Linked DNA regions of Homo sapiens: all the other regions are linked to region 4. Evidence: promoter capture Hi-C in 16 types of primary human blood cells and fetal thymus (Javierre and others, 2016). All regions are on one chromosome and are shown on one strand. The core of a region is centred on a gene start or on the middle of the fragment in contact, and the rest is flanking DNA. Distances in the headings are between cores, read along the strand shown. Region 1 overlaps TRERF1 (transcriptional regulating factor 1). Region 2 overlaps TRERF1 (transcriptional regulating factor 1). Region 3 overlaps TRERF1 (transcriptional regulating factor 1). Region 4 holds the start of UBR2 (ubiquitin protein ligase E3 component n-recognin 2). Region 5 overlaps GUCA1ANB-GUCA1A (GUCA1ANB-GUCA1A readthrough). Region 6 holds the start of LOC105375061 (a long non-coding RNA gene).

What was found. The method cuts DNA at HindIII sites, captures the fragments that hold promoters and counts their contacts. A CHiCAGO score of 5 or more calls a contact.
Region 1: a contact is called between a fragment that was not itself captured here and the fragment with the promoter of UBR2 in region 4, in 2 of 17 cell types (M1 macrophages and M2 macrophages). The highest score is 6.7, in M1 macrophages.
Region 2: a fragment that was not itself captured here is called in contact with the fragment with the promoter of UBR2 in region 4 in 4 of 17 cell types (M1 macrophages, M2 macrophages, M0 macrophages and 1 more); the score reaches 6.4 in M1 macrophages.
Region 3: a contact is called between a fragment that was not itself captured here and the fragment with the promoter of UBR2 in region 4, in 4 of 17 cell types (M2 macrophages, M0 macrophages, M1 macrophages and 1 more). The highest score is 5.6, in M2 macrophages.
Region 5: a contact is called between a fragment that was not itself captured here and the fragment with the promoter of UBR2 in region 4, in 1 of 17 cell types (M2 macrophages). The highest score is 5.7, in M2 macrophages.
Region 6: a contact is called between a fragment that was not itself captured here and the fragment with the promoter of UBR2 in region 4, in 7 of 17 cell types (M2 macrophages, endothelial precursors, M1 macrophages and 4 more). The highest score is 7.8, in M2 macrophages.

Annotation. Positions count from the first base shown.
Region 1 is chr6:42,295,596-42,299,324 of GRCh38, forward strand. All of the region lies in intron 4 of TRERF1 (transcriptional regulating factor 1), which reads right to left. Among named protein-coding and RNA genes, the nearest start is that of MRPS10, 80 kb to the left of the region's middle. The HindIII fragment of the contact is 9,654 bases long and covers 1-3,729 here.
Region 2 is chr6:42,242,462-42,246,296 of GRCh38, forward strand. TRERF1 (transcriptional regulating factor 1) reads right to left here. Exons shown (of 18, transcript NM_001395490.1): 15 at 787-900. Among named protein-coding and RNA genes, the nearest start is that of MRPS10, 27 kb to the left of the region's middle. The HindIII fragment of the contact is 7,735 bases long and covers 1-3,835 here.
Region 3 is chr6:42,261,556-42,265,089 of GRCh38, forward strand. It overlaps TRERF1 (transcriptional regulating factor 1), which reads right to left. Exons shown (of 18, transcript NM_001395490.1): 7 at 3,149-3,299; 8 at 1,765-2,013. Among named protein-coding and RNA genes, the nearest start is that of MRPS10, 45 kb to the left of the region's middle. The HindIII fragment of the contact is 602 bases long and covers 1,874-2,475 here.
Region 4 is chr6:42,562,524-42,566,338 of GRCh38, forward strand. UBR2 (ubiquitin protein ligase E3 component n-recognin 2) reads left to right here and starts at 1,506. Exons shown (of 47, transcript NM_001363705.2): 1 at 1,506-1,874. The coding sequence starts at 1,797. RefSeq lists enhancers at 1,068-1,147, 1,218-1,737 and a silencer at 2,770-2,899. The HindIII fragment of the contact is 771 bases long and covers 823-1,593 here.
Region 5 is chr6:42,170,013-42,173,324 of GRCh38, forward strand. All of the region lies in intron 1 of GUCA1ANB-GUCA1A (GUCA1ANB-GUCA1A readthrough), which reads left to right. Among named protein-coding and RNA genes, the nearest start is that of GUCA1A, 1.7 kb to the right of the region's middle. The HindIII fragment of the contact is 1,549 bases long and covers 519-2,067 here.
Region 6 is chr6:42,221,912-42,225,264 of GRCh38, forward strand. LOC105375061 (a long non-coding RNA gene) reads left to right here and starts at 2,828. Exons shown (of 4, transcript XR_001744122.2): 1 at 2,828-2,948. TRERF1 (transcriptional regulating factor 1) reads right to left here. Exons shown (of 18, transcript NM_001395490.1): 18 at 3,020-3,353. RefSeq lists an enhancer at 2,596-2,675. The HindIII fragment of the contact is 3,274 bases long and covers 1-3,244 here.

The DNA of each region.
Region 1 (3,729 bases), core at 748-3,247, 270 kb before region 4:
TCATCCAGCCTCATCCAGGAAGCCCTCCCTGACCATTGAAGGGCATCGTGTTTTTCCCTCTTGGATATCCACTCTGAGTACCTAACAATCTTATGAAGATGTTTTAGACTTTATGCATTTTTTTTGGTTACAAAGTCCTCTTGTGATGAATAGACTTTAATTTTAGAGTAGTTTTAGATTCACAGCAACTTTATGCATTCTTTTATAGTACTTGCCCACTATACAAAGCCCAGAGTCACTATAAATAGCAGGCTTTGAAAAAAAGACTTGTTGCCTGATAGATATCAAATCAGGAAACGACACATGTCTAGGTGTAATATAAAGCCATTTATTACAAGAGGGCGTGAAAAGTGAAGTCTCATGCCAGCTATAAGAATAGAGCTAAAGGACATTCACGACCCTTCTCCCCCAGCCCCATCACTGCTGAAAATGTGTCCTCAGAGCAGTAATGCCATCCCTTGATCTGGGGGCCCTGCAAGGGAAACCTCCACAGTGAGTCCACGCAGCCCCAGCCCCACCACGGCACCAGGACACAGGGCACAGCTCAGCGGGAGGGCCAAGATATGGAGTGTGGAGGTCTAGGCCCCATTTTCAGAACCCCTGGTTTACATCTTCCACAAACACTGGCCAGACCAGTGCGTTCTATCTTCCCTCAGATTATTTTTAAAAACACCCCAGTTCAAAGAACATCATAAAGAGGCTGGGATTCCCACATTTACATTAGATTTCTGCCTCCATTTTAATCTCATTTTATAAACTGGCTTTGTCAATTTAAAAGCATCACCAACAAGAACACTGGCCTTGAAGTGGTCTGTTCTCAGTCATAGTTATATGAACCACCACTGACCAAGCACTGATGATATCCAAGCTCTGTGTTACAAGCTCTACAGGCATCATTTCATTAAGTCCTTGAATAGCTCTATCCACTGTCCCCATGTGACCAATGAAGAAACGGAAGCTCAGAGAGATTCAGCTGTTAAGTGGCAGAGGTAGGTTCAAACTCAGCTCTTTCTCCCTGCCCCTCAAAGCCCAAAAGCCAAACCACTGTGCTCTGTAGACTCCCCTCCAATGAAAGGCACGCCACCATGAAAAAGAAAAACCAATCGCAGGAAGGATGGGGAGAGGGGAAAAGGAAAAAGAGGCAGAGGGAAGGGAAGAAGGTGAGAAGGAGAGAGTAGCATAAGGAGGAAAGGAAGCCAAGGTCTGGATGAGAAGCCCACGGGATCTGGCTTCAGGTTCAGGAGACTTTTTGCAGAATGGGAATGAAGCAGGAGGGCTGCTGGTGACTGCCAGACAAACAAGCCACAAAATATGGAGAAGCCATTTCCTCCCTCAAGGAAGATAAACAATAGATTCATAAACAAATTGTACAAAGCTGTTCAGCTAGTTAAAACATTTTGGTAGCAACTCATATTCTTTGTGGGACTAAAGTTTGTCCTTGCCAATGGTCAACAGTTATCGTGGGGAGAGAGGAGAGGAGAGGGACATATTCTCTCCCAGCCTTTCACCTGCTAGGCCTATGGCTACACCCTCTCTGAGCTTCAGGTCACTCTTCTGTGAAGAAATAGAAATTCCTGCCCTCCTGACTATTGTGGAGAAGAAAAAGATATACTTTTGGCAATATGGCAGACCGGATACCTTACTTGCCCCTCCTAATGGAAAGAACTAATATGCTGGATACAATTTTAGATATAAAGACTGAATACACATTGCTGAGATAGTACAAATGAAAAGACCAAAACAAACCCAAAGCAGGAACCTTGGAAGGTGAGCTGGCATCAAAGCTGGCTTTTGCCCTGAGGGTTTCTGCTGAAACCTGGAGATTCTAAGTTTCCCAATGACAGCAGCACAGGGTTAAGAGCCTAGGGAGACCCCTCCACAAAGTTGGGACTTCAAATGGCTCCACTCCACAAAATTCATTCGACTTGGTGAATGAGAAGTAAATGCACAACACAGAGACTGCAAGAAAACTGGACCTTGCAAGGGCTGAGCAGAATGGGGGGAAAATCTCTCTGCTGAAAATGTGTAACCATAGCTGGACTTCACACAGGTTTGTAGCCTGAATTATATTACTTGGGTAGCCAGAAAAGCCTTAACTAGAAAATTAATTTAAAGTGATTTTTGTTGGTAATGCCCACCAGACAACCAGCAGAAGTTAACCAAATCCTCTCTGGAAAAGACAACTCAACCCACACCTCAGATAATTCCCTAAGATAAAGTGCCAAGAAAAAATGAGCAATTCACAGGAAACAAGGCATTATGAATACCAGCCAGCAGAAACAACAAGTGGCAGAACCAGACCTGCAAGAACTTCAGATTTGGGAATTACAAGACACAAAATTATAAAATTTCTAAATAGCAAATTTAATATTTTAAAGAAATAAACATCTTCAAATATGAGCAAGAAATGAGAGACCAGAAAAATCACCAAGCAGAACTTCTAGAAATGACAAATAAATAAAGCAAAAAGAAAAAATCCAATGAATGGGTTAAAGAGCATTTTAGACACATAATAAATTAGTTAAATAGAAGATAGTTGTTGTTTTTTTTTGTTTTTGTTTTTGTTTTTGTTTTTTTTGAGACAAAGTCTGGCTCTGTCACCCAGGCTGGAGTGCAGTGGTATGGTCTCAACTCACAGCAACCTCCACCTCCAGGGTTCAAGTGATTCTTGTGCCTCAGCCTCCAGAGTAGCTGGGATTATAGGTGCGCGCCACCACACCTGGCCAATTTTTTTATTTTTAGTAGAGATGGGGTTTCACCATGTTGGCCAGGCTGGTCTTGAACTTCTGACTTCAGGTGATCCACCCACCAAGGCCTCCCAAAGTGCTGGGATTACAGGTATGAGCTATTCCCCCGGCCAGAAGATAGATTTGAATAAATTATTCAGAGTTCAGCACAGAGAGACAAAGAGATGAAAACGTAAAATAGGTTGAGGGTGGTGGCTCACGCCTGTAATGCCAGCACTTTGGGAGGCTGAAGTGGGTGGATCACTGGAGGTCAGGAGTTCGAGACCAGCCTGGCCAACAGGGTAAAACCCTGTTTCTACTTAAAATACAAAAATTGGTGGGGCACGGTGGCTCATGCCTGTAATCCCAGCACTTTGGGAGGCCGAGACGGGTGGATCACCTGAGGTCAGGAATTTGAGACCAGCCTGGCCAACATGGTGAAATCCCATCTCTACTAAAAATACAAAAATTAGCCAGGCGTGGTAGCAGACGCCTGTAGTCCCAGCTACTCAGGAGACTCAGGCAGGAGAACTGCTTGAGCCCAGGAGGTGCAGGTTGCAGGGAGCCAAGATTGTGTCACTGTACTTCAGACTGGGAAACAGAGAGAGATTCCGTCTCAAAAACAAAACGAAACAAAACAAAAAACAAACAAACAAAAAAAGCTAAGGTAGCTCCTCGGGAGGAGGAGGTGAGAGTATCATTTGAGCCCAGGAGTTTGAAGCTAGCCTGGGCAAGAGAGCAAGACCCTGTCTCTAAAAATATCTATCTATCTATCTGTCTGTCTGTCTGTCTGTCTCTATCTATCTATCTATCTACATATATATATATATCTAGCTAGCTGGATAACCCCTGAAAAAACACACATAGAGTCTGTTTTTTTCTATCTATCTATCTATCTATCTATCTATCTATCTATCTATCATCTATCCAGGTAGCTAGCTGGGTAACCCCAGAAATAACAGACATAGAGTATGCAAGTTACAAATAAGAAGATGGAAAATGA
Region 2 (3,835 bases), core at 192-2,691, 320 kb before region 4:
TAATGTCAGACATAATTTTTATATACACATATATGGTAGGTAATGTTTTCCACAGAGTGTGAAAAGGAGATTTCCCATGGCTATGGATGCAGGGTGGAGAGTTAATTGCAAGGATCACAAGTGATAGTAATCATCAAAGCCACACATACAGGGTTCAGAGACTAGTTAGGTCTTCTTGTGTCTTTGGTACGTACTTAATGTGCAGTTGACTGTGGACTGTCTGCTAATGAAGGAAATCAATACCAGGGATAATGGTGATGTAAGGATTAGAATCATCTACATGCAGCGAATTAGTTCCTTAATGATGGAGGGTTCCTGGCACTACCTAGAGGTCAAAGCTCCTCTTGCTCATGCTTTACAGACTGTGGCAAAATCCCAGGGACCCTTTCTGAGGCACATTATGGGCTCAGGTCAGTAGCATCTATGACATGGAAAGATCAAAAAAGAATATTCCAGGGGGTCAGGACACCACCCAATCATAAACCAACAAACCCAAGGCTGGGACCATCCTTGGTTTAATTCTTCTGGCTCCTAGCTGCCTTGAAGCGGGCACCAGCCCTCACCTCTGTTTCTGAACACTGAGCTACAGGCCAAACCTATGGACTTCTTTCCTTTAAACCTACTCAGGAGGGTAGGTCCTGAATCCTGCAGGAGAGCTGGGCTGTTGTCACCTCCTTCCTCTGGCTATCTTGGCAGCAAAGCCAAACCAAACACCAGCTACTTACTAACCTGGGCCTGGGGTGGGAGCTGTCCCAGCACAAGCAACAACTTAGCAGCTTCACTCACCACACAATCGTCGATGATTTCTGCCAGGCGTGTCCGGTGTTTCCGCCCCAGCCGCATGATCTTTTTCCACGTGTAGTAGTACTCCACGCACTGAGCCACCGTCTTGGACTTCACCTGCCGGGAAAGCGAACTCAAGGTTAGCTCCAGCAATGGGCAGAGAGCAAAGGTAGCAAGCATTTTTGAATATTTAATTTTGTAATAGGGTAATAAACAAGTTTGTACAGTTCAAGAAAAAAATGTACCTGGTGAAAGGCCTCCTTCACACGCCTGTCCTTACCCCTCACCCTGCAACACAGGTAGCCCCTTGCATTAATTTCTTTGGCTACCATTCCAGATTTTTTTTTTTTTTTTGAGACGGAGTCTTGCTCTGTCGCCCAGGCTGGAGTGCAGTGGCGCAATCTCGGATCACTGCAACCTCTGCCTCCCAGGTTCACACCATTCTCCTGCCTCAGCCTCCCGAGTAGCTGGGACTACAGGCATCCGCCACCATGCCCGGCTAATTTTTTGTATTTTTAGTAGAGACGGGGTTTCATTGTGTTAGCCAGGATGGTCTTGATCTCCTGACCTCGTGATCCGCCCACCTCGGCCTCCCAAAGCACTGGGATTACGGGCGTGAGTCACTGCGCCCAGCCTTTTTTTTTTTTTTTTTGAGATGGAGTCTTGCTCTGTTGCCGAGGCTGGAGTGCAGTGGCACCATCTTGGCTCACTGCAACCTCCACCTCCGAGATTCAAGCAATTCTCCTGCCTTAGCCTCCCAAGTAGCTGGGATTACAGGCACCCGCCACCGCACCTGGCTCATTTTTTTCTATTTTTAGTAGAGATGGGGTTTCACCATGTTGGCCAGGCTAGTCTCGAACTCCTGACCTCAAGTGATCCTCCTGCCTGGGCCTCCCAAATTGCTGGCATTACAGGCATTGAGTCACAACACCCATTCCAGAATTTTTTTCTTTTTTTGAGATGGAGTTTCACTCTCGTTGCCCAGGCTGGAGTGCAATGGCACGATCTCGGCTCACCACAACCTCCACCTCCTGGGTTCAAGCGATTCTCCTGCCTCAGCCTCCTGAGTAGCTGGGATTACAGGCATGCACCACCACGCCCAGTTAATTTTGTATTTTTAGTAGAGACGTGGTTTCTACATGTTGGTCAGGCTGGTCTCGAACTCCCGACCTCAGGTGATCCGCCTGCCTTGGCCTCCCAAAGTGCTGGGATTACAGGTGTGAGCCACTGTGCCTGGCCTCCAGAATTTTCTAATGCATGTACCAGCACACACAAAAATATATTCCCTCCCCCACCATCTTTCCTCACAAAAGGGAGCACACTATAAATACTGCTTTGCAACTTGATTTTTTTCTCAATATAGCTTGGAAATTTTTTCAGATCAGTCCTTACAGACTTACTCATTTTTTTAACCCATAAAGCAGCTGCTTTTTCATTTAATATGCTTGAATGTCTCTAACTTGACCTTCAAAATATGCTTATGAGAAATGTTCCTTAGTAATGGAATAGGAATATAAGGCAAAAGTTATGATGACAGAGCTTAGGTTTTGCAGGAAATGGGCCTTGCCCTATTCAACCCCAAACAGGCAAAGGTCTATGCATCTTAAGACAGAAACATTCCTTTGTTTAGTTCATATGCTGTATGATCAGGTGAGGTGTAATAACGTGGGTTTGCTGGAGGCAGATTAAAGGCTGGCCTTACCCTTGAGGGTGGGAACAAGGCCACCTACATGGTGAGATGAGAGGGGCACCCAGTCCTGTCTCCTCAAAGTTGCCCCCTTCTCATCCCCCTGACACCTGGAATTTCCACACTAGAATCACCTGAGGGAGTGAGGACAGTGCCCGTCCCAGAGAGCCCTGGGTTAAAACCCAGGTTGCCTGGTAAGCTCAATACACGAATCCATCATCAGTCGCAAGTGTGGGGCCTAAAGGATTGAGGTCTATGCCAGGCCAGTCCTGGAGGGGAGGGTGACTCTAGAAAGATGAAGCATGAGAGCTGCTGGGCACACAGGGCAGCAAAGGCATGGCAGCCGCCAAGGGCAAGGCAGGAGCAAATGCAGAGATGGAGGCGGAGGCGAGGCGGAGGCAAGTCAGAGACAAAGTCCTCCTGCTTTTCACACTTGCCCAGGCAAGGCCCTAGACTGACAACAGGAGACATGCCACCCTAGGACACCTCCGAGGACCATCTGTCTCAGCCAGGGGCCAGTGGGTGCTATCAACTGCGCCCTGTTCTTTGTGTACCTGAACAGCCTTAAATGGCTTTAACACAATATGGCTCCATCATTCATCAGTTTGTTGAAACACTCTTTGAATGATTTTAATTTTTTACACTAAACCATCTCTCAGCCAATAAAGTCAATAAGTTTATCTGTTGTATAAAGTGCTATTTCATCTATGTGAAAGTTTTATTTTGCTTTCGAATGCTGTATACGCAAGGTATTTTTATTATTACTGTCATTAAAAATAGGAGTTCAACACCAGAAACTGTGCTACTGGGTAGAGGGAGGCCACATATTCTCCTCTCCCCAGAAAGTTCTGTCAGAAATGTGGTAGATCTGTTAAATATACGTAAATTATGTACGGCCAGGCATGCCGGCTCACGCCGGTAATCCCAGTGCTTTGGGAGGCTGAGGGAGGTGGATCACTTGAGGTTACGAGTTCAAGACCAGCCTGGCCAACATGGTAAAGCCCCGCCTCTACTAAAAATACAAAAATTAGCCGGGCGTGGTGGTGCATGCCTGTAATCCCAGTTACTCTAGAGACTGAGGCAAGAGAATCGCTTGAACCCGGGAGGTGGAGGCTGCAGTGAGTCAAGATCACACCACTGCACTCCAGCCTGGGTGAGAGAGTGAAACTGTCTTGGAAAAAATAAAAAATAAAAATAAAATAAATTATGTAAATTGTGGACCAGGAACCCGAGTTCTAGTTATTCTGACAGAATTATGAATTACACATTTTTATTAAGATAGAAAATAACCCCGTGCCACTGCAGTGTCCAGATAATCTACGCCTTCTTTCCCCTGTCCTCTCCCTGCCACAGTCCTAACACTGG
Region 3 (3,534 bases), core at 925-3,424, 300 kb before region 4:
TGATGAGTCCAACCCTATCAAGGTCAGGGGAGGAAACTGAGGCTGTGAGTGGGGGGCAGGTCTCAGCTGTCTTCATCCCAGCTGGCTAGGAGCCAAACTGAGATGGGCACTCGGGGCTCCTTCCTGGATGTTTTAATTTCTTTACATTAAGTGCCAGGGCCTTGTTCCCATGTATTCAGTCCCACCTACATGCTTCCACTTCAGCCTACCGCCCCCACCAACGAGGTCTCTCTCACCCTTCCATTAAGCCAAGTTCATCCCTTCCTTCAAAATCCTGCTCAGAACTCTAATGGTGATCTCCTGAGCAAACTCCCTTGCCCCTCCCCAGTCCATAATGACTTTGGCTACCCAGGTGTATTCTCATCCAGTCACACTTAAAGCATCAATTTCTTGTCTGCCCCTGTCTTTCTCTTACCATCTTGAAGGGGTGGGGGGGGTGTGCCTGGGACTCTGACCCCCATGTGACTATGAACTCTTAATTGAGAGTTCCCCAAGGGAACTATTTCCCCAAGGAAACACTGTTTCTCCTGCCAAAGCACGAACTTCCCTGGGCAAAGAGGGAGCTTGGATGTGTCATTTCATCTCTCTGCCTGTTGCTGACCCCCAAGTCCTGACGGCTTATGAGAATCTTCCCCCCAGTTCTCCATCAGTTTCTCTTCTTTTGAGGACTTGATATTACACCATAAAGGTTTTTTTCTGTACTTTTCTAGTTGTATTCATTATCTTCTCTCCCTCTACCCTGGCCCAGCCTACCCTTATGCCTCCTGGATTCCCAGCAGCTACCTATTCCTAAGGACAAATATGACCCAACATGCCACTTTGTGGGGAGGGGGTAGGTTTGATATTGCCAACCACACAGGTCACAAATTCCCTAGGGGCAGAGAGAGAGAGAGAGAGAGAGAGAGAGAGAGGAGAGAGAGAGAGAGAGAGAGAGAGAGAGAGAGAGAGAGAGAGAGAGAGAGAGAGAGAGAGAGAGAGAGAGAGAGAGAGAGAGAGAGAGAGAGAGAGAGAGAGAGAGAGAGAGAGAGAGAGAGAGAGAGAGAGACAGACAGACGGAAACCCTTCCCAGAGGCAAATTAAGCTGTTTGAGTGAAGCACTTAAAATTGGAGAAAGGAGAACAGTGAGTGAGAAAAACAAATCTCTTTGCTTTCCTGAGATTAGGGGTGGGTGGCTCTCAGTGGAACTACTTTGGGAACTTTAACGAATTAGGTTCTCCAGGGTATTTAAGCAGACAAAAATATTAAGCAACTGGTAAGGCTGCTTGTCAGAATGGATGCCAGGGCTATTGCCTGGAAGCCTGCTGCGCCAGTGGTTACCTCTTTGGTTGTGGATTTGGGAGGTCTGGAGATCCTGGGGAAGGGGCCAGGGCCTGGGGCAACAGCTGCTTACTTTCTGGGATACAGGACTTCCATATTTCAATAATGGCTATGATTGTCTCAGTGACTCCCAGCTGAATGATCGTCTCTGTTTAAACCTGGGAACACTTTCGGGTCTCTCAGAATCTAACCTAGGCCATTAGTTTGGCATTTAATGGGGAGCAGGCAGTGTGAACAAGGGTAGGGTTCCCAATGTGGCCACGGGTTCAGCCCTGAGAGACCAAGCCGTATCCAAGCTCAGGTCAGTGACTCTGGAAGGGCCGCCCCATCTCCAAGAAAGCAAAGGGATGTCCCCACCCAGGCAGGTGGGGCAGAGCAGCAACTCACAGCAGGCGTGCGGGGGGCAGCCCCTTGGGGTGAGTGTGGGGGAGAGAGGGTCATCCTCACGAGCACAGGCATCTCGTCGTCCGACATCGAGCTGGCTGGCTTGTCTCTGGCGGAGGGGGCGGCAACGGTGCTGTTGGTGAACCCCTGAGAGCTGGGCTTGGGCGGGAGAAGCTTGACAGGGACAGACACGGGCATGACCATAGGCGTGAGGCTTTCTGCCTCGGGAGGGAGCTGTGGTGGCGGCGGAGGCGGAGGCGGAGGCGGCAGTGGTGGCTGGGGCTGAGGCGGCAGGACCTTCTCTCCTTCCTCCTACACAGACAATAAAGGCTTTGATCCTGGGCTGAGAGCAGCTCTCACAAGGGGGATGCACTTTGCTTTTCCCGAAAGGTTCCAGGACATCAGGTATGGGTGATAGAGAACCGCTGCAGGGCGATTTCCTTCCTGCAATCCTGAGTCCCTTGGCTGGAGTGATGCCAGCTGATGGTGGAAGAGGCTGGACTCCATTTTTTACAGTTAAAAATTCTTGACCATGCATTACTTGTGTATTAAACTATTTTAAAAAAATTGTGTGGTTGTCATGCTTTTAAAGAAAGGGACACGGACTTGTAATCAGTCCAAAAGAAGGTACGATCTTGTGTAGGAGTTTTTAATTCTATGGGCCTTAGTTCACTCATTTGTCAAATGGAAATAGGCATTCCATCCTAAATTTTATTCAGGTCAGGAAACCACACTGGAGATACAAAACATGTACTTTTAACAAGTAAAGACAAAAGCTTTTTTAAAAAACATAATCTGGCATGGCCAGGAGATGGAGTGATCTGGGTAATCAAAAATTCTGTTCAACAGAGATTTAATCCCATAGATTTAAATTAAGAGTAACAATATTAAAATAATTCTGAGAAAATTTTTTGATTTTAATCTAACTCTAAAATTTGTGGATAGTTTACTATCTGGATATCCTACCTGGATAATCCAGAGGGTATTTAAGGATCTTTGGATGTTGAGCTGAACACCACTGCATCAGTAAATAGAAAATTCTGGCTGAGAGCCTGATGATTATATTAGCTTTCTCTGGCAATTGACCACTAATCTGGAAGGCCCCAGTGGGCCTGGTCTTGGGTGTGTCAAGCAGCAGAAGTTTAAAAATAATATTGCATTTACATGTTTTCCTTTGCTGTCTTCTCCAGGAGGCAGAGAGAGAAGCTGGGATGCCCTAAAAGGCTTTCTAGCGCCTCTGATTTTGACCCTTGCTCATCATAAAGCTGGGGAAGTGGGGCTGCTTGACCTGGCTGGCTCCCAGCGCCAAAGCCTAAGCATTCCTGTCAAGGGAGGACTGTGCCTCGCCAGGTCCCGCATGGGGCTCACATCACTCTCTGTCTGACGGCAGCAAAGCAAAGCAAGCAGCACACGACCTAGAAAGGACCGGGAACTGGCTCCTGCTAACCTGTTTGAGGTTGGGGGAGGCCCTCATTCCCCCGTGGGACCGCATGTGGCCATTCAGGGCAGGCAGGTTCTTGAACTCCTTCAGGCAGATGGAGCATGTCAGCTTGTTCTTGGCATCAAACTGCTCCCCAAACGCTCCTTTGGGTTGGCCACTGCTCAAGGGAAGAGTCAAATGGAGAGGACACATACGTTGAGGAAGGGGAAACAGTGACTTGCCACAAGACCTCATACCCACCACAAACCCATTTCATTCATCCAATGATCCCATTGTCCATGGCACCACTTGTATCACCCCAGTGCCCTTTAGAGAACAAAGTTCAATTTATAGATGAAAAACTGAGGCTCCAGAGTGGGAAAAGGCCTTCTCAAAGTCATGCAAGAATTGAA
Region 4 (3,815 bases), core at 256-2,755:
ACTTTTTTCTGGACAGACTCATAAGACAGTGTCAAAAATGATTTTCTTTGGGGAGAGGGACTTGGGGTAAGAGGAATAGGAAGTTTTCAATTTTCCTTTTTTAAAACATTCCTTTCGAGTTTGAATTTCTGATGTTTTATATGTATATATATATATAACTTTTAAAAAGTGATAAGAAGGCTTACTTGTATTGTGAGGTTACAGGGATACAGGCAGTTTCTTATTTCCTTTTTTAAAAAACTGGTTAATATCATAGTATTGGTTTAAAAAAAATCCCAAAACAACATAAACATAAACATGTCCTAAACCTGGTCTGGCTCAGAACTTTTCCCCCCTATATGTAATTTACAACCTACTTCTGGGAATAAATTAACACACTTGACAAAAGGTATAAACAATTTTCTGACAAACTCTAGAGACTGAAGACTTCTAAGAAGCCCAGTCACCCAGCTGTCAGTCAAGAGTCTAATTACCTTTAACTAAACATAGTTTTCTTTGATAGCTAGTCTAACAATGTTTACCTATTTCTTTTTTTTTTTTTTCCTTCTTTTTTGATACAGGGTCTCAGCTGTGTCACGCAGGCTGGAGTGCAGTGGGCTGATCACAGCTCACGATGGCCTCAACTGCCTGGGCTCAAGCAATCCTCCTGCCTCAGCTTCCCGAGTAGCTGGGACTACAGGCGTGCCACCACACCTGGCTAATTTTTTGATTTTTATCAAGAGGGTCTCGCTATGTTGTCCAAACTGGTCTCAAACTCCTGGGCTCAAGTAGTCTGCCCCCCTCGGCCTCCCAAAGTGCTGGAATTACAGGCATGAGCCACCAAGCTTGGTCTGATTATCTGTAGAAATTAAATGTCTCTATCAAGAGGAAATCTTTTAATTGGCCTAATAGACTCTTTTTCCTTTGCAGCAAGATTTGTGATAAAGTTTATAAGTGGTCATCACTAAAGTTTTTGAAAAATTTTTTAAAACATGTTTTAAACCTTCAAAAAAGTGGGTAATGTTCACCTCCATTACTCGTATAAAAGATATGGGTTCGATGGATGACAGGACATAGAACCACAGGAATAGAATGTAATTCATTCATTCCTTTGACAAGTATTTGAGTGCCTACCCTATGCCAGACTGGCAAGTCCTTGAGGGTCTACCATGTGCCAGGCAGTGTTCTTGAAGCTGGGGATACAAAAATGAACAAACGAGATTCGGAGAATAAAACTACAGTTCCCACAGTATCTTTCTCTTTGGCTTTTTTCCAGGGGGCGCTGCTTTCCGCGACTGTCTTCCCATGATTCTCGTTGGGCAGAAAAGCCCCGCCCGCTTATCTGCCATTTAAGCCAGCGCCCCTTGAGAATGGACTACAACTCCCACAATGCATTCGAGGGGCACCGTGTTAGGGCGCCACCTTTTTCCCGGCTGTGCTGTACCTACAGCACCCAGAACTACAGTACCCAGAAAGCTCCGCTTCCCCTCCTGGGTGTTATTGCCCCTTTCCTGGTGCAGGACGCGGTAGTGGCCAGCGAGAGTGTCAGGCCTGGGGTTTTCTGTGTCCTTCCCTGGGTCAGGGACGAGCCAGTGACTTGACTCTTGGGCGCTAAGCTTGGGAGGGAGCGCAGGAGGCCGCTGTCCTTCCTTTCCGGTTCACGTCACCCTTCTCTCCCTCTGTTGCTCCACCTGCAGCCACTTGGACGGCTCCGGGACTGATTGCCTGGGGCAGGGGTGGCAGTCGAGGCCGCCGGGGCCGAGGTGAGGCTGCAGCTCTCCGGGCGGCGGTAGCGCTGGGGAGGAGGAGGAGAGAAGATGGCGTCGGAGCTAGAGCCAGAGGTGCAGGCCATCGACCGGAGCTTGCTGGAATGTTCGGCCGAGGAGATTGCGGGGGTGAGTGCCGGAACCCGGGCGGGTGCGTCTGCCCCTCGCAGGCCGCGCCTGTGGGGAGGAACCGACTCCTGGACGTCCTGGAGCAGCCCGACCCAGACTTGGGGAAACAGCTGTGCCGGCCCTCGCCTTGTGGGGTAATAGCCCGGGGAGGCCACCGATCCTGCCCCTCTCTTTCCATTTTCAACAGCTGCCAGAGCTGCGCTGTGCACTAACTACGTTTACTTTCCCTTTCTGCCCAGGAGAACCCACGGCTCTTCCATCATACCTCCTTTCCCCCAGCCTCCCATTAAGTCTCCCAACACATGGGCCTTTGCCCTTTATATCAGCTCTTGGAAGAGGAGAAGAGACGCTTCTTGTGTTTTTGGTATAATCGCCCTAGTTTATCTAGTTAATTGCTTTTCCTGAGACAAGCGAAGCCGTGTGCTCCTCCGACTAAACATGCCACCCTAACCGAGCCCCTCTTTTGTTTTTGGGACTGCCCCAGGCACCAAGAAGGCAAACGACACTACCCTTCGTTATCCGTTTCAGTGCTATCTTTTTTTTTTGCACCGGTTTGATTAGTTGACAACGTTGATGCATGTGTGGAAAGTTTACTGAGTATGAGAAAGTAGTCGTGGAGTCTGGGAAATTTTAAAAATATTTTTTCTAGGAGTTAGGGGTAATTGGATGGAGAACAAATGTTATATAACGTTGATAGAGCAGCTTTCAACAAATACTGTATAAGCTAAACGTGAGAACTGGTCACAGTGTAGTAGGAGCAGTTATATTCCAAACGTAAAACCGTTCAAACGCACTATTGCATTAAAACTGTAATATGAATATGCTAGTGTAAATAGCAGAGTTGTAGGAACACCCATTAGAAGAGATTGCCGAGAATGATTATGAATGGACCAAGACAGCTTGGGCCCCACCTCTAAGACCTCCAATTAAAAAGGCTGCTAGGAAGGGAGTGACCCGTGAATAAAAGTCAGCAATCTGAATGCTACGAACAAAATTTGGGATTGGGGGCACTGTGGAGCTGTTGGTCAGTGAGTAGTTATTTTGCGTGAATTGGTGAGGACATTAAGTCCGGGTAGAAAGAAATGTCAGGAGTAGAGGTGAAGACTTTAAAGAAATACGTTGTTAAATGCTGAATCTTTGCTTGTTTGGGTGTGTTTTGTTGTTGTTTGTTTTTGTTTTTGAGACGGAGTTTCGCTTTCGATGCCCAGGCTGGAGTGCAGTGGCGCGATCTCAGCTCACCGCAACCTCAGTCTCCCGGGTTCAAGCGATTCTGCTGCCTCAGCCCCTCGAGTAGCTGGGATTACAGGCATGCACCACCACGCCCGGCTAATTTTGTATTTTTAGTAGAGTTGGGGTTTCTCCATGTTGGTCAGGGTGGTCTCAAACTCCCGACCTCAGGTGATCCACCTGTTTGGGCCTCCCAAAGTGCTGGGATTACAGGCGTGAGCCACTGCGCCCTGCCTTGGTGTGTTTTTTTAAACCTACTTACTTGTTTAGCCTAGGTCTGTTTTCATTTACTTTCTACTTAATGTTGTACAACTCAAGGAATTTCTGCCTTTCGTTTATCGGAGATTTGAAAAAAGAAAATGAAAGTAGTGTTACAAGTAAACTGTTAAATAATAATGACAGCTGTTTGCTCTCCATGCCTCTTCTAATTGATATCTGTTGCTTACCTCAAAGTACTGTTTTGATTTTTTTTCTCTCACTGAATTTTGTGTCTTGGTCCAGTGATACAGGGTACAAATTCCGTTATCCCATTCTAAAAGTGCAAACTATCAAGTGATTAGAGGTTCTCCAATTTGTAGAGGCTCCTGAGGAAACTGGTTATAAAAGTAGTGCGGGAGGCCAGTGCTCCTAGTTCTTGTTCAGTGAAATTCTCAAGCAGATGCAGTAAGGAAAAATCAAGGAAAATGCAACAAAAAATTATTAATTTGGACTTCA
Region 5 (3,312 bases), core at 43-2,542, 390 kb before region 4:
TAGAAAACTAATATAACACACACATTAGCCAGAGTTCTTCAGAGAGACAGAGCTAATAGGATTATATATAGAGGTATGAGAGAAGATTTATTAGGGGGATTGGCTCACATGTTTATGGAGGCTGAGAAGTCCCACAATATGCCATCTGCAAGATGGAGAACCAGGGAAGCCAGTAGCATGGCTCAGTTCAAGCCCAAAGGGTTCAGAGCCAAGGAAACTGATGGTGTAACTCTGGGTCTGAAGCTGAAGGACTGAGAACGTGAGAGTGGGGAGGGGTTGCTACTGGTGCAAGTCCTGGAGTCCAAGGGCAGGAGAAGAAGAGTGTCCCAGCTCCAGGACAGAGAGAGAGAGAGAGAGGGAGAGAATTCACCTTTCCCCTGCCTTTTTCTTCTGTCCAGGCCTAAGCCAATTGGATGGTGCCCACCCACATAGGCTGAAGGCAGATTCTCCTTACTTAGTCCATGAATTCAAATGCCAGTCTCTTTGGCAAGCACCCTCACAGAAACACCCAGAAATAAAGCTTTACCAGCTTGTTGGGTAATCCCTTCATCCAGTCCTAAAATTAACTGTCACAACACATAAGCAAAATGTCAGTATGCTGTGGGAGGAAGATATTTGAGAGAGATTTGGGAAGGCTTCACAGAGGAGGTGGCATTTGTACTCACACATGAAGAGTGAGAGGGATTTAAATAGAAAGGGAAAGATGAGCGGCTGCCTTGTCCCCAACCTCTTCATTTCCCAATCTTGGGCCTGAGAGTCCTCGGCAAGGACACATTTTCCAGCTGGGCCCCAAGCAAGTTCACAGAAGGAGTCCTTCTCTCCCCGTCCCTTAACTTGTTGTGGAGAAGCTGACTGAAGCAGGGAGAACCCAGCTCCCCACCCCCATATACCTTCCGTCAATCAATTCATGTGGAGTAGAGGTAAAACAGTCCCAGTTTGTCTCTTTTTCAAAAATAACTATCCTCTTTGATTTTGTGAGCAACATATGTTCATTATGAACAATTTTTTTTTTTTTTTTTGAGATGGAGTCTCTCTCTGTCGCCCAGGCTGGAGTGCAATGGCGTAGTCTCGGCTCACTGCAAACTCCGCCTCCCAGGTTGAAGTGATTCTCCTGCCTCGGCCTCCCAAGTAGCTGGAATTACAGGCGCCCACCACCATGCCTGGCTAATTTTTGTATTTTTAGTACAGATGGGGTTTTACCATGTTGGCCAGGCTGGTCTCGAACTCCTGACCTTGTGATCCACCCGCCTCAGCCTCCCAAAGTGCCGGGATTACAGGCGTGAGCCTGGATCTGGTAAGGCTTTAACAAAGGCCTCCACCTTCCCTAGGGCCTGACTACAGCTGGTAGGTGGCCTGTGTGAGGCAGGTTGGATGTCTGTTCCTACACATAGCCCTTCTGGCCGTCCAGGGCCCAGAGTGAATGGGGCTAAAGGGACAAGAGCACGATTGGCTCTAACCCAGGGATGCTGCTGTGTCCAAGATGCAGTATAAGTGCACCTAGATTGTAGTGAACAGCACATCAGACATGCTGCTGTAATAGATACAAAATCATAACATCATAGCCAAGATTTATGGGGCACTTACTCTGGGGCAGACCTTGTTCTAAATGCTTTTCTTATATTAACTCACATACTCTTTTTTTTTTTTTTTTTTGAGATAGGGTCTCGCTTTGTCATTCAGGCTGGAGTGCAGTGGTGCGATCTTGGCTCACTGCAACCTCCGCCTCCTGGGTTCAAGCGATTCTCCTGCCTCAGCCTCCCGAGTAGCTGGGATTACAGGAGTGTGCACCATCACGCCTGGCTAATTTATGTATTTTTAATAGAGATGAGGTTTCACCATGTTGGCCAGGCTGGTCTCGTACTCCTGGCCTCAAGTGATCCACCCGCCTCGGCCTCCCAAAATGTTGGGATTACAGGTGTGAGCCACCGTGCCCAGCCCCACTTACTCCCCTTAACAGCCCTATCAGATGGGCGCCATTATTCCTATTTTAAGAATGAGGAAACTGGGGCCCAGAGAGGTTAAGTTACTTGCTCAAGGTCACCCAGCCAGTAATGTAAGCAAGAAACAAGCTTGTATTGTTTTCAGCCACTGAGATTTTAGAGTGGTTTGTTACTGTAGCATAACCTAGCCCATTCTGAAATATGTATGCACATGTATTTGATATATGTTATATGTTGTATAAATTGTATATTTATATAAATCTATTTACATGTAATTATATATTATTTATATAAATCATATAAATTGTGTATCAGTGCACAACTTGACCAAGTGTCCAAGGCCCTGGTGGGGAAAGCAGAAATATGGGCAGTGGTTCCCTCTAGATGAGTTAGGAGACCTGGGTGTGCCCCATATGTAAAGGAGGAAGGCAAACAAGAGAAAAAGACAGGGCAGGGCAAGCGCTGGCTTTAAGCTTTCCTGGCAGCATCCAGGTTAAGTGCACCTGCACCCAAATGCTGGTTCCATAAATGAGCCAGCTTTTAAGTGTGTGGCTAGGGAGTACGCATCCCACCAGGCATCAGAGAAAGCTGTTGCTGCATAGACAGGCCCCCAGGCTTGGCCTGGGAGCTTTCCAGGACCAGCAGGTAGCAGCTCACCCATGCACCTGTGTGCCTGCACTCTCACACTCACACATACCCCAGGGCACCAGGCGCACACTCCATGTCCCCTGCCCTGTGCCCCTAGTAGGTGATGGTGATGATGTGAGGCTCAGAATTAGATGGAAGGATGAATTCAGGGCTCTCAAGAAGGGAGAGATGCAACCTTCAGGAACATGAGAGTGTGGCCAGAACAGGATGAGTGTGTACGAGTGTGTGTATGTGTGTGCACGTCTCTGTGTACTGGTGCAGGCTAATGTAGGAGGGGGTTCTCTCTGGCTGTTCAAGGCTTATCTTGGAAGCCCACAGACTCTGCATCCACCCAGGTGCCCTCAAATGTTAGCACACTCATGGTATGATTGGACCCCCTCAGTTGTGATGGCCAAGTGCAGTGCACAGCCTGGATAACTGTACACAGCAGCCCTGTCAAGAGCCCACAGTTGGCCATCTCTGGACAAGAAGCCAGCTCTATCTCATATATACCTCAATTCCATGATTGAAGGCAGAATCCAAAACCACTGTGAATCCACTCAAACCAGGAGAAGAAGGTCACAAAGGTCATAGGATCAGAGCAGCTTCTAGCTGACACCCACTCCGTGGTGGTAAGAAGGGATTAGAAGATTGCAAACTGGGTTAAAAAATCCTCTCACCTACAGCTCAAGGCTGTAATCCTAAGGACTCTGCTTCTCTAAGCCTTGTTCTATTTTCAACTCTT
Region 6 (3,353 bases), core at 358-2,857, 340 kb before region 4:
CTACAGCCTAAACTTCCAGACACCCAACCTCATGTAGAGGAGCAGGAGTCCAATGATTCTAGATAGTTGATGCAAGTAAACCTTGCTTTATGTCCAGAAAAAATAAACATAGATACATCAAATATTTTACAGTTAATCATATTTTGATTGTGCCAGTTGTTCTGTTTTTAAAGACAGTCCTTTCCAAAAGATCCTCTCGTACATAAAGGAAGTAATCAGCTCTTTGGCTCCTTTTTTTATATTTATTTTTATTATTATTGTTTTTTTGAGACACAGTTTCACTCCTGTTGCCCAGGCTGGAGTGCAATGGCTTGATCTCGGTTCACTGCAACCTCTGCCTCTTGGGTCCAAGGGATTCTCCTGCCTCAGCCTCCCGAGTAGCTGGGATTACAGGCATGCGCCATTATGCCTGGCTAATTTTTGTATTTTTAGTAGAGACAGGGTTTCTCCATGTTGGTCAGGCTGGTCTCAAACTCCTGACCTCAGGTGATCTACCCGCCGCGGCCTCCCGAAGTGCTGGGATTACAGGAGTGAGCCATCACGACTGGCCCTTTGGCTCCTTTACACAGGGATATCTACAATTCAAAGATCACTTATGGTTCTCTTAGGAATATATTATTCAATTTCTTAAAATGTCTTCCTAATTATGCTTTGCTGTGTCAACATGAACTCTCATCCACATTCCTAGAGCACATCTCAGCTCGCTGGCGGTGGCTGAGGATGGTAGATAGGGAGTAAATGGAATTCAGGATTTACACACACATTCTCTCTCTGCCAAATGCACACATGGATGAGCGTACCTGGAGGACTGGCGAGTTAACTCATTGAACAAATAGTTGCTGAGCACCCGCTATAAATTGCTGTGTACATGTGGGTGATGGTGAGAGGATTCCGAATATTGATAGGTCTCTTCTCAATCCTGGAATTGAATCTGTTCCAAGGCCCCCATATGTCTTTCTAGGTATTAAATTCCTTGGCAGGAAGGAATCATGTACAGCCATCTTTATACACTCTCCTCCCCCTGTATAATACAGTATGGAATAATGGTGGCTCATGAGGATCGACTGACTGAATAAAAGTAGAAAAAAATCTTCCAATTAGGCCTCCAGAAGTAGACTTTAAATTTACAGCACTGGCTAAGGCACACAGTTTCTAGAGGAATAGCTATTTTATTTGGTATAGGTTGTCTAAAGTAAACAGCTAAAATTAAAGTCAAAAACCAAAAAAGGCCAGGCGCAGTGGCTCACACCTGTAATCTCAGCACTTTGGGAGGCCAAGGTGGGTGGATCATGAGGTCAGGAGATCCAGGCCATCCTGGCTAACACGGTGAAACCCATCTCTACTAAAAAAAAAAAAAAAAAAAAAAAAAAATTAACCAGGCGTGGTGGTCTGTAGTCCCAGCTACTCGGGAGGCTGAGGCAGGAGAATCCCTTGAACTCGGGAGGTGGAGGTTGCAGTGAGCCCAAATCGCGCCACTGCACTCCAGCCTGAGCGACAGTGAGACTCCGTCTCAAAAACAAAAAAAATCCAAAAGAGGCCAGGTGCAGTGGCTCATGTCTATAATCCTAGCACTTCAGGAGGCCAAGGCAGAAGGATTGCTTGAGGCCAGGAGATCAACATCAGCCTGGCCAACATAGTGAGACCCTGTCTCTATTAGTTTAAAAACAACAACAACCCCCCTTCCCCACCCCCCCCACCCTCCAAAAGAATCTAGATCAAGGTCTTGAATAGGCATTCCCCACTTAAAGCAAATTTATTTTTGTAAAATTCTGTAAACTTCTGTATGAAATCCAGAATTTGAAAGTTCTTCTATAGTTTTCTGTTGACCATGAAAAGTAAACATACATCACGCCTGTAATCCCAGCACTTTGGGAGGCCGAGGCGGGTGGATCATGAGGTCAGGAGATCGAGACCATCCTGGCTAACAAGGTGAAATCCCGTCCCTACTAAAAATACAAAAAATTAGCCAGGGTGTGGTGGCGGGCGCCTGTAGTCCCAGCTACTCGGGAGGCTGAGGCAGGAGAATGGCATCAACCCGGGAGGCAGAGCTTGCAGTGAGCTGAGATCACACCACTGCACTCCAGCCTGGGTGACAGAGGGAGACTCTGTCTCAAAAAAAAAAAAAAAAAAAAGTAAACATACAGCCAGGTGCAGTGGCTCACACCTGTAATCCCAGCACTTTGGAAGGCCGAGGCGGGCCTCAGACGGATCTCTTGAGGCCAGGGGTTCGAGACCAGCCTGGCTAACATGGCGAAACCTCGCCTCTAATAAAATACAAAAATTAGCCAGGTGTGGTGGTGCATGACCTGTATAGTCCCAGCTACTTGGGAGGCTGACCCGTGAGAATTGCTTGAACCCAGGAGTGGAGGCTTCAGTGAGCTGAGATCATGCCACTGCACTCCAGGCTGGGGAACAAAGCAAGGCTCTGTCTCAAAAAAAAAAAAGTAAACATACTTACTCAAATTTGAAAATGCAGGTTTAAAATGCAAATAAATCGGGGTGGACTTAGAGGAGCTGACCCGTGAGAATTGCTTGAACCCAGGAGTGGAGGCTTCAGTGAGCCAAGATCGTGCCACTGCACTCCAGGCTGGGGAACAAAGCAAGACTGTCAAAAAAAAAAAAGTAAACTTACTTACTCAAATTTGGAAATTCAGATTTAAAATGCAAATAAATCGGGGTGGACTTAAGACTTTGTGGAGGATTTAGTGTAAGACACCTGTATGTCACAGTGTGCTCCCTTGAATCACAGTTTGAGTCATAAGGTTTATGACTCAGTTTGAGTTTATGACACAGTTTGAGTCATAAGGTTTACGAACCCAAGTGGTTCATCCACTGCTTGAATAGCAGAAATGTATGTCCTGGTCTTCGGAGTCGGGGGACACTTTAATAATGATCATTAAATTTGATCAGCCGACTTAAACTTGTTGTCTACGGAAACCAATTAACAGGTAAACTAGCATTTATCCAGCATTGAGAAGTCATAGCAATGGCTAGAAAGAAGAAATATTTAAGCCAAACGAAACGCAAAAGATTAATATTTTATTTTCAGAGCAGCTGATGCAATATTGAATCAGGTTTTCACAAATAAATATGACAGTGTCTGTTTGGTTACATCTCCATTTGATGAATGCCCATCTATAGGAACTGTAATAACTTTCTGAGAGGCTAATGATTAGAATGTGTTAAATAAAATTTCCCTGGTTCCCTTTTTGAAGAAGCATTGTGATAATTAAGAAAAAAAAAAAGCTTATCACTTGGAGGGGAAACAACCTAGAATGCCCCAGTTTCCTTTTTTTTTCTTTTTTTTTTTTTTAAGGAATGCACCTTTTTAGGACAAGTCTATAAAACATCTT